Linked DNA regions of Homo sapiens: region 2 is linked to region 1. Evidence: promoter capture Hi-C in human tissues and cell types (Jung and others, 2019). All regions are on one chromosome and are shown on one strand. The core of a region is centred on a gene start or on the middle of the fragment in contact, and the rest is flanking DNA. Distances in the headings are between cores, read along the strand shown.

Region 1 (4,560 bases), core at 1,103-3,602:
CTCACTCTGTTACAGCCCAGGCTGGAGTGTAGCGGCACGATCTCGGTTCACTGCAACCTCTGCCTCCCTGGTTCAAGTGATTCTCCTGCCTCAGCCTCCCAAGTAGCTGGGATTACAGGCATGCGCTACCACGCCCGGCTAATTTTTGTATTTTTAGTAGTGATGGGGTTTCACCATGTTGGCCAGGCTGGTCTTGAACTCCTGACCTCAGGTGATCCGCCTGCCTCAGCCTCCCAAAGTGCTGGGATTACAGGCGTGAGCCACTGCGCCTGGCCTCGGGCAGTTCTTTTCAAAGCAGTATGAGAAGGAACTAATACACATGGCCATGCAGTGTAGAAAGCACATCTACTACCACTTCCTCCTGGATTGTCACCACATCCCTGAGAGGACCCAGAAGAGGAATCTGTTGTTTGCAAAGGAGAAAAATGAAAGCTACGGTTTGGTTGACATTTGTGGAGTGCCTGTTATTTCTTAGGCACTTAGGTTTACCTCTGCGACAGGATAGAACTGTAAGTGGCCCTGGCATCTGAGTCAATCCCTAGATCCATTGTCTGTTGGGTGGGGCTGGGTCCCCACATGAGTAGCAGCCAGAACAGGTCCCTCCAAGGCCATGGTCCTGTGGGAGCTCAGATCCTTTTAACTAGGGTTGGAGCCTGGCGCCCTCTGGCGGCGAGCTGCAACCTCTACCCGCCAAACCCAAGGCCAGGCTGAGACCAGCCACCAATTCACACCCTTGTTTTGCAAGTGGAAAACCTCAGTCCAGAGAAAGGCCCGGGCTTGCTGAGACAGAATGACTTTCGTATTTGCTTTGTGGAATGTAAGTTGTCTGGTGAAGCATTATTGCTCTTCTTGTTAACCAAAATCAAAATTGAGAGGGTCAAGGCAGAACACTGATGTTTGCTGAGCCTTCCTTTATTCTCCCTATCTTCAGATGGGTGTGATGAGCCTATTTTACTGAGAGGAAAAGTGAAGCTCAGAGAGGCTAAAGAAATTACTTTCCCAGGCTCACAGAGCCAGCCAATGCAGAGCCAGGATTTGGACCCAGGTCTGTCTGACTCTAAGCCCACCCTGCCAGATCCCTGGAGTTTCACCTCCAGTCCCCTCTTCCCCAACAGTCCCCCCCATCTCCCAACTTCTTGGTATACTGATCTGGGACAGCAGAACGTCAGCAGTCATAAGTCCTTAGCTCCGTACTTGGTGTCACCGTGTCATTCAGACACAGCCAGTTACCACTCCTTGGCCTAAGCAGGGGAGGGAGACTGGGGGTTGGGAAGAGACGCTGGGCAGGGGAGACTCAGGGGCTTCTGGTGGGGATGGATTAGTGGGGTTGAGAATCTAAGCCAGAATTCGGAACCTCGGTAGCTATGAGATCTTGAGCAAGCGTCTTTACCTCTGTGAGCCTCAGGTTTCTCAGCCAAAAAGTGGGAAATTATAACAATACTTTGACGGCCCCACTTAGGAAAAAAAACAGTCCAGGTTTGGAGTTAAATTTTGGGGTCTGACTGGCTGTGGGGTTTGGGGCCAGTGATTTGACATCTCTGAGCAGATTTCAGATCCTGAATCTGTAAAATGGGTTGTTGTGGGGATTTAGTGAGGTGACTGAGCTGGCAGCACTTTGGAAAATGTGAGGCTTTACAAATGAAGCTGGTTTTTAGCACTTCCCTGGAATGGGGGCTCTGAGATGGGGAGGGAAATGGATACTGGAAACCGGCACCCCCCTCAACATTTCCCCTGAACCCAGGCACATGAGTTCTCATTCTGCATCCTATGCACCCACCAAATGGGTTTCTCCAAGCCTGGCACCCCACTCCTTTCCACCTTGCCTGAGGACCTGAGGCCCCTTCCCTCTTCCCACCTTGTTCTAGTTGCAAGCTGCAGAGGATGGCCTGAGTTTCCATTCTTCAGCCTGGAGGCTCTGGCTGTAGCCTCAGTCTTCCAGCTGCAGCCTCAATCTTCTGCCCCAAGAGAATCCGTTGGATGATTTGGGTTGATCTTTGGGAGGCAGGAGAGCTAGTTCCAAGGCCTGTGACCAAAACCTTTCAGTCACTCTCGAGTCCCAGAACCCCATCTTTCTTGAACCAAGCCTGCTCTGGTGCCCAAAGGGAAGGGGTGTCAGTGATGGGGGCCCACAGGAGACTTTTACTGTGGTCCAGTTTTATCTGTTATGCTGCTGGTCTGGCACCCACAGAACTGCCCTGTCCCCCTCCCGTCTCTGGCCTCAGTACTGGCGTTGCCAGTATGAGGAGACAGTGAGAGGAGGGGTGAGGGCTTCGGAGTGAGAGAGGCTGACAGGAGGCGGGGACTCTGGGGGGCTGAGGACTATAAAGCGGCCCAGCCGAGGGCAGGGGCCCATCCGGCCTGAGGCAGGTGCTCGCTTGGTCTAGTGCCCATTTACTCTGGACTCCGGGTAAGTGGGCTCAGCCTGCCTGGGGCTCTGGGGGCCTCCCCCAGGCTGGGGCCTGGGATGGAGAGGAGGTGGTGCTTTGCAGGGCCAGGGGCCTTGGGAGGCCTAAGGTCCTGCTTGGGTCTTGCTTTCTGCATCTGGACAGACCTGTCACGCTAGAAGAGCCGTCTGCTGACTGCACGTGTGTGTGCACACTCGTGTGCATGGCTGTGAACTGGAATGTGTGACTGTGACCTTGTGAGTGACTGGGGTCCCTGTGTGAGTGCCTTTGCTGGTCTGTGCAGGACGACATGGACAGTAGCGTCTTCTCCAGGACCGATATCTGTGTCTCTATCGCAGGGTGGAGGGCCAGACCCACAAGGCCATGGATTTCTGTCCTTGGCTTCCCGAGTTCATTCTGTGTCCCCCACCCTGTGGGTGACCTGGCATGCCCTTATTCCCACTAGCTGCTGCCTCCTGGGAGCCATGAGGCCCTGGATGTCATGAGTCCCGTGTCTCCAGGACTCACATCCCCATTTTCTCTGCTATACTTTTCTAACTTGCGAGGCCCTGGCTTGCTGGGCTGCTCACAGGACAGGCTGTCCGTGCCTTCAGAGCAGTGTCTAGGAGGTGGAGTGGCCAGCTTGGAGTGGCCCTTTGCTCTGCCCCCTTGTCCCCAGGCTTGGAGAAATGGATGATGGGCTAAGGGGCTGGATAGTTGGGCCCTGCTTCCTGGGCACGGGAAAATCTGCAGCCCGGGCTCTCCACCTCCCCTCTGCTTGCTCCTCAGATGGCTGCCGCACGCCTCTGCCTCTCCCTGCTGCTCCTGTCCACCTGCGTGGCTCTGTTACTACAGCCACTGCTGGGTGCCCAGGGAGCCCCACTGGAGCCAGTGTACCCAGGGGACAATGCCACACCAGAGCAGATGGCCCAGTATGCAGCTGATCTCCGTAGATACATCAACATGCTGACCAGGCCTAGGTGTGTGCCACAGTTGGGGAGAGAGATCCCAGCCCCTGGGACCCTGGGCCCACTCCACATTCCTGGCCACACCCTATCCCCAGCCCCAGCCCCAGCCCCTTCCAGGCCTGCTCTTGGGAAAACAGGGCATCTGTGCTCAACAGGCCTAGACCAATGTGCCCTGGGCAAGATGGTGCCTACAGGCAGATATGAAACAGGTGGGCTGGCACCTGGGCACAGTGCTTGCCCCTGCTGCCTCTTCCCTCCCAGGTATGGGAAAAGACACAAAGAGGACACGCTGGCCTTCTCGGAGTGGGGGTCCCCGCATGCTGCTGTCCCCAGGTGAGTTTGACTCCCTGCCCTGTCTGTCCAGCTCCCTGGAGCTGAAATGGGGGTGGTGGGACTGAATCAGGGCTTGGAAAGGTGTAGTGGGGGGTGGAAGAGGGAGAACAGGAGCCCAGGGCCAGCCTGAGGCCTCCTGAGGGCACGAGGCCTACCCCCTACACTGCCATGTTCTGCCCTGTCCTCACAGGGAGCTCAGCCCGCTGGACTTATAATGCCACCTTCTGTCTCCTACGACTCCATGAGCAGCGCCAGCCCAGCTCTCCCCTCTGCACCCTTGGCTCTGGCCAAAGCTTGCTCCCTGCTCCCACACAGGCTCAATAAAGCAAGTCAAAGCCACAGCCTGTCCTGTGTCTCTGTGGACCCCTGGTGGGGGCAGCAGGAAGTGCCAAATGCATGGGAGAGAAAGGGGAGGGCAGGGCAGGGCAGAGGAAAAGGGGATCATCCAGAACGTTGGCGGGGGTCATCAGAGTCACTCAACTCATCCTCTCCCCTTCGCAGAGGGAAAAGTGGTGGCCAGAGGAAGGCAGGGACTCCTCTGAGCAGATGGTCCTTCAGCAAGTCTGTGAAGTGGCAGTCTTGAATCTTCCCAGTTCAGTACCCATAGACCTTCCCGACACAGCCTGATGACAACCCTTCCCCAAGTGCACCCCTCACCAGTGCCTTACTGCAGCCTAGGCAGCAGAAGCACCAAAATTTATACGAAAGCACCCTTGGCATGGGGGCAGGGGCACAGCCCAGCCTGGAAGAACGATTCTGGTGCTATGGCAGTCATGGCTGCATCCAGGGGCCTGAGCTGCCGTCCAGAAATTTGGAGAGAATGGGCTGCCCTGAGAGGTAGTGAAGTCCTGGGCACAGGAGGTATTCAAGCTGCT
Region 2 (4,670 bases), core at 879-3,378, 170 kb before region 1:
GATGATGTATATGATGTTCGTAGCACTGCACCTGGCACATTGCCATGGAGGAGCTACCTGTGCTCTGAGAATTAGCAGATGTTCCCTGGTCCCTTTTCCTGGATTGGGGTGAGGAAAGGGGACCAGGGGACACCTGTCTGCCCAGGAGGAGTATCCCTACACCCTAGAAAGAAGCTGAGGCTGAGCAGCCTCTGGAGGCGACACTCCAGAATGAGCGGGAGGGAGCTGCCATTTAGCAGGTGTTTAGGGGTCTCTCTGCTGGTTGAAGGGGTGGGGAGGCACCTCTCAACTCTGTGGGAGGGCAGAAGTTAAGCAAACCTCCATGGGGCTATTAGAACTCCAGGGAAGGTGCCTGTGTGCCAGCCTCTCCTAGACCCTTCCAATTCCTTTACCTGTTCTGGAAGGCAAGAAGAAAGACGGAGGCTTGAGTCTGGCTTCTTGGTCTCCATCCCCTGGCTTGCTTGCCAAGAGTAGCAGCCAGAGCCGCTCCCAGATGCATGGGTACCCTGGCCGGCGCCCTTCCCCAGCCCAGCCTCTGGCCACCCAGCGCTGTGGCCTTGGCCCTGAGTGCAGGCCCTCCCCTGTTCCCATCCCCCTCGCCTGGCGCTTCCTCCTGGGGTAGAACCGCCTCCCCCCCCATGGGGCCTCCTGGCAGCCCGCCCGCAGCTCCCTGAGCATGCTCCACCTATTTATAGACAGGGCCCTCCCCCAACTGCTATTTCAGTCTCCTGCCAGCTGCCGGCGGCGGCTCATTCGGGAAGGAGGAGCAGGGAGCCGGGCCCAGAGCTGTCACCCAGGGTTGGGAGGGAACACAGAGCCCGCCTGCCCGCTGAGCTCCCCTTCCTGTCCCAAGTGCTCAGCCATACCCCAGCTCCCAGGAACCAGGGAGAGGCTGGTGGTCGGATGCCCCTCTAGAGCAGAGCTGGGCCTGCAGCTCTAGGGCCTCCCTGCCCCTCCTGCCGCCAGGAGTGCCCAGGCCGGATGAGGCACTTCCCTACAGTGTGGGTCCCGTCGGCAGTGGCCTGAGGGAACCTGTGCTGTGCGGGCTGCCCGACCACCTTCCCTTCGGTCTGCTCCCCGCCTCTGGCGGCCCCCTCCCTGGCATGCTGCTGGTGCCCAAGGCTCAGGGGCTCGTGGAGATGCTGCAGACCATCTATGAGACAGAATCCTGTTTCTCAGCAGATGGGATGTCAGGTCGGGAACCATCCTTGGAAATCCTGCCGCGGACTTCTCTGCACAGCATCCCTGTGACAGGTAAGTGCCTTGATGTCCCTGCCTGCCCTCTGTCATCTGGCATCCTTGTCCCTGGGCTGAGCATCTGGCCCTGAGCCTTGCACAGATAGGGTCCTGCATAGATCTGTCTTGAGAGTTTTGTTGAGAATACACAGGGCTGGGGGATCCCTGCTCAGAGAGGCCCCTGCCCTCCCTGCCCAGAGCCTGCTGCTCCCCGGTGCCCCTCCGCTGTACTCTGCTGCATCTCTTCCAGTCCCTTCAGTCTCTGGCAGGGTCGGCATCCACTGCTGGGGGCTGGGGGTTACTGGAGGATCCTGGCCTAGTTGGCACTGTGGTCAGAGGGGAGGAAGTGGGTCAGTGACCCGCCTCCATGCTGCCCGCTCCCCAAGTTTGGGCAAGGGAAGAAGGTGTAGCTGGGTGTCCACAAGAATAAAGGTTACTCCAGCTCCTCTGGCTTGGTTCTTGGGGCTACAGGATCGAGTACAGTGACTTCCGCAAGTCCCCAGCCAGGAGTCTCTTGAGAATCAGACACTTGGGGAGGCTTGGTGCAGTCATGATGGAGTTAGGCAGAGGCTGGCAGCTTGGATATTGAGGGGCTTGGCTGCCTTAGCCCCTAGCTGTCTCCCGATGGCGCTCCTCTCCCCAGGTCTGGGTTGATTCCCATCTCATGAGGATGAAGAGGTGTTACTCTGGCTCAGATGGGCTTCGGGACCCCCTAATCCTGCCACCTTCTCAGCAGGAACTTTTTTGGCTCTTGGCTAGGGGTGGGGTCCCCCAGAGCTGGGCCGCTCCTTCCCTCACTCCCAGGAACCTGTTGGCAGCATCAAGCCTTCCTGGCACAGCCTCCCCACCAGGCCGGCACCACAAGATGCTTCCTCCAGGGAGGGGCCTGCTGGACCCATGCCTGCTCAGCCCCTCCTGGCAGTGGCTTGGCACTCAAGTGTGGGTGTCTGTGTGTGTGCGTGTGAATGGGGAGTCCTTGCCTCTGGATATGTGGGTGTGCATCCCAAGCTTCAAATTGGAAAGTGGGAACTGTGTGCCTCTGCAGGTGCCTGTGATTTGGCTCTGAGCTGCCCAGGGATAAGGTTGCAGTGGGACTTGGATGTGTCAGAGCATGAATGTTTTGGGAAGATTCAAAAAATCTTTGGAACATGGCTTATCATCTGCCCAGGCAGGGATGCCCATGCAGTTTTCTCATGTAGGAGCATGACCCTGAAGACTAGCCCTGCAGGGTATCCATGCAGGCCCCGAGGATAGGGGCATTACCCTGGGGCCAGCCCTGTAGGCTGGGGTGGGGATGGGGGTGTAACCTTGGGAACCGGCTCTACAAGATACCCACGTAGTCCCCTGAGGTAGGGGCGTATGCCTGGGGGCCCCCTACACAGGTCCCTGGGATGAGGAATAAACCCAGAGGGCTGGTTCTTATCCTGGTCTGGAGTCCACAGGTCCAGCTAAAGACCCTGCCTGCTGGCCCCTAGCCCACAGCCTCTGGGACTCAAGGTGGTCTCTTGGAAGGCAGAATAATCCCAGAGCATCTGCTTGGGACAGCTCCACGCCATCTGGCTTATCAGGTCCACCCATCCTGCCCTGTCGCCTCTGTTCCTTGCTACCAGCAGCAGCCAGCAGTTGGCCGGAAGTTTCCTCCTCAGCTTGTTCATTCACCTGCTTCCAGATTGTACCCCAGAAACCTTGCAGGCTGGGACCCTGCTCTCTCATCTCCTCCCTAAGCCTGGCTGCCCCTGCATGGACTCCCAGGCAGCCCCTCTGTCCAGATCCCTGTCTCCCCACTCCACCCCCAACGCTGGCTGGCCTTCAGAGTGGTGGCTTGGTCCATGCTGGCAGGAGGGAGGCGTGAGTCACCTCAGCGGCTCGGGGAGAGGGCTAAGAATGTTCCCCCTGCGCAGCTCTGATGCTGTGTCTGTGACGCGGCTAGGGACAGATATAGGCCTGGAGCTCGGCAGCCTTGTTTTTTTTTTGTTTTTTTTTTGTTTTTTTTTTGGACTCTGGAATGTAAATAGATGTTTCAAATAGAAACACTTTAACCTTTGGGTTAAAAAAAATCCACCCCGGATAAACACGGCCATGAGGGCCCAGGCAGCCTGGTGTTTCCCTCCCCACCCCCTCTCCCCATCTCTTGATCGGTCTCCAGACAGGATGCAAGATCCTATGGCTGAAAAAGCAGGTGTCCAGGGAAGCTTCTTTGGATGGTGTGAGTTGCGCAGGTCTCCCAAGCCCAAGGGGTTGGGGCAAGGGTCTTTCGAGGGTGGTGCCTGCCTGCCACCTCCAGCAGCATCTTTAGAACCCTATTTTAGGGATAGCCTTTGCTCTCTGGGCTGTCTTGGTTGTTGCCATTGCCCAGCACCTAGCACAGTGCCTGGCACATGGATGAATGAATGTCGCATGGGGAGGGCTGGAGTCCAGAATTGCTGGCAGGATTCCTGGGCTCTATTCTGGGGCCTGGACCTCTGGGTGAATAGAGACAGCTTTAGTGAGTCACCCCAGCGGGTAAGACAGAGCCTTAGCCTACCGAAGGACAGGGGCAGTCTGCTGTTCTTGCTTAAAGAGTGGGGCGGATCTCAGCATCTGCTCTTAGCGATCAGAGGTCTTCCTTGATGGATGGGGTCTCTGCCTGGCCACCCTACCACAGCTCCCCAGTGCACAGTGGGCACCACCATCATCCCAGCTTAGTTCTGGCTTGGGGAGCCTGGGAGTTTGAACTCTAGTATGGGATTCTCAAGGACACAGAGGTGGGGAATTCTCTGCCTCCCTTATGTGGGCCCTGGATTCCCCTTTGTCTTGTACTGGGTGGAGCTGATGCCCAGACAATACGCAGGACTTTATGAGATGGCATGGAGGAGGAGTCTGCTTTTCCCATGGAGGGAGGGTGTGAATCCTGCTTGTGCCAGGAAGGAATGCTATGGACACTGGGAAGTGCCATGGGGTCCAGGTTTGGTCTTAGGGCTTTCCCTGGATATTCGTGTTCGTGCTCTTCAGTCTTTCTGGGTTTGGCTGTGTGTATAGGTATGTAGTGCCGGGAGGGTAAGAAGTGCAAGACTCAGGGGTGAGAGTGGAACTATTATAATGCACTGAGTGACAAGGCTATCAGGTACTTTCCCTGCCCTTTTTTTTTTTTTTTTTTTTTGATACGGAGTCTCCCTCTTTTGCCCAGGCTGGAGTACAGTGGCACGATCTTGGGTCACCACAGCCTCCACCTCCTGGGTTCAAGCGATTCTCCTGCCTCAGCCTCCCGAGTAGCTGGGACTACAGGCACACGCCACCGTGCCTGGCTAATTTTTGTATTTTTAGTAGAGATGGGTTTTCACTATGTTGGCCAAGCTGGTCTCGAACTCCTGACCTCGTGATCCGCCTGCCTCAGCCTCCCCACAGTGTTGGGATTGCAGGCGTGAGCCACCACGCCCGGCCCTTGCCATATCTGT

Evidence for each region. The method cuts DNA at HindIII sites, captures the fragments that hold promoters and counts their contacts. A contact is called where the count stands out against the background at its distance.
Region 2: a fragment that was not itself captured here is called in contact with the fragment with the promoter of PPY in region 1 in 2 of the 25 tissues and cell types used here (mesenchymal stem cells and spleen).

Annotation. Positions count from the first base shown.
Region 1 is chr17:43,940,268-43,944,827 of GRCh38, reverse strand. It overlaps PPY (pancreatic polypeptide), which reads left to right and starts at 2,352. Exons shown (of 4, transcript NM_002722.5): 1 at 2,352-2,407; 2 at 3,174-3,364; 3 at 3,614-3,685; 4 at 3,876-4,024. The coding sequence starts at 3,174. The coding sequence ends at 3,900. The HindIII fragment of the contact is 11,700 bases long and covers 1-4,560 here.
Region 2 is chr17:44,107,313-44,111,982 of GRCh38, reverse strand. It overlaps HDAC5 (histone deacetylase 5), which reads left to right. Exons shown (of 27, transcript NM_005474.5): 3 at 1,183-1,254. Among named protein-coding and RNA genes, the nearest start is that of HDAC5, 14 kb to the left of the region's middle. The HindIII fragment of the contact is 4,562 bases long and covers 1-4,409 here.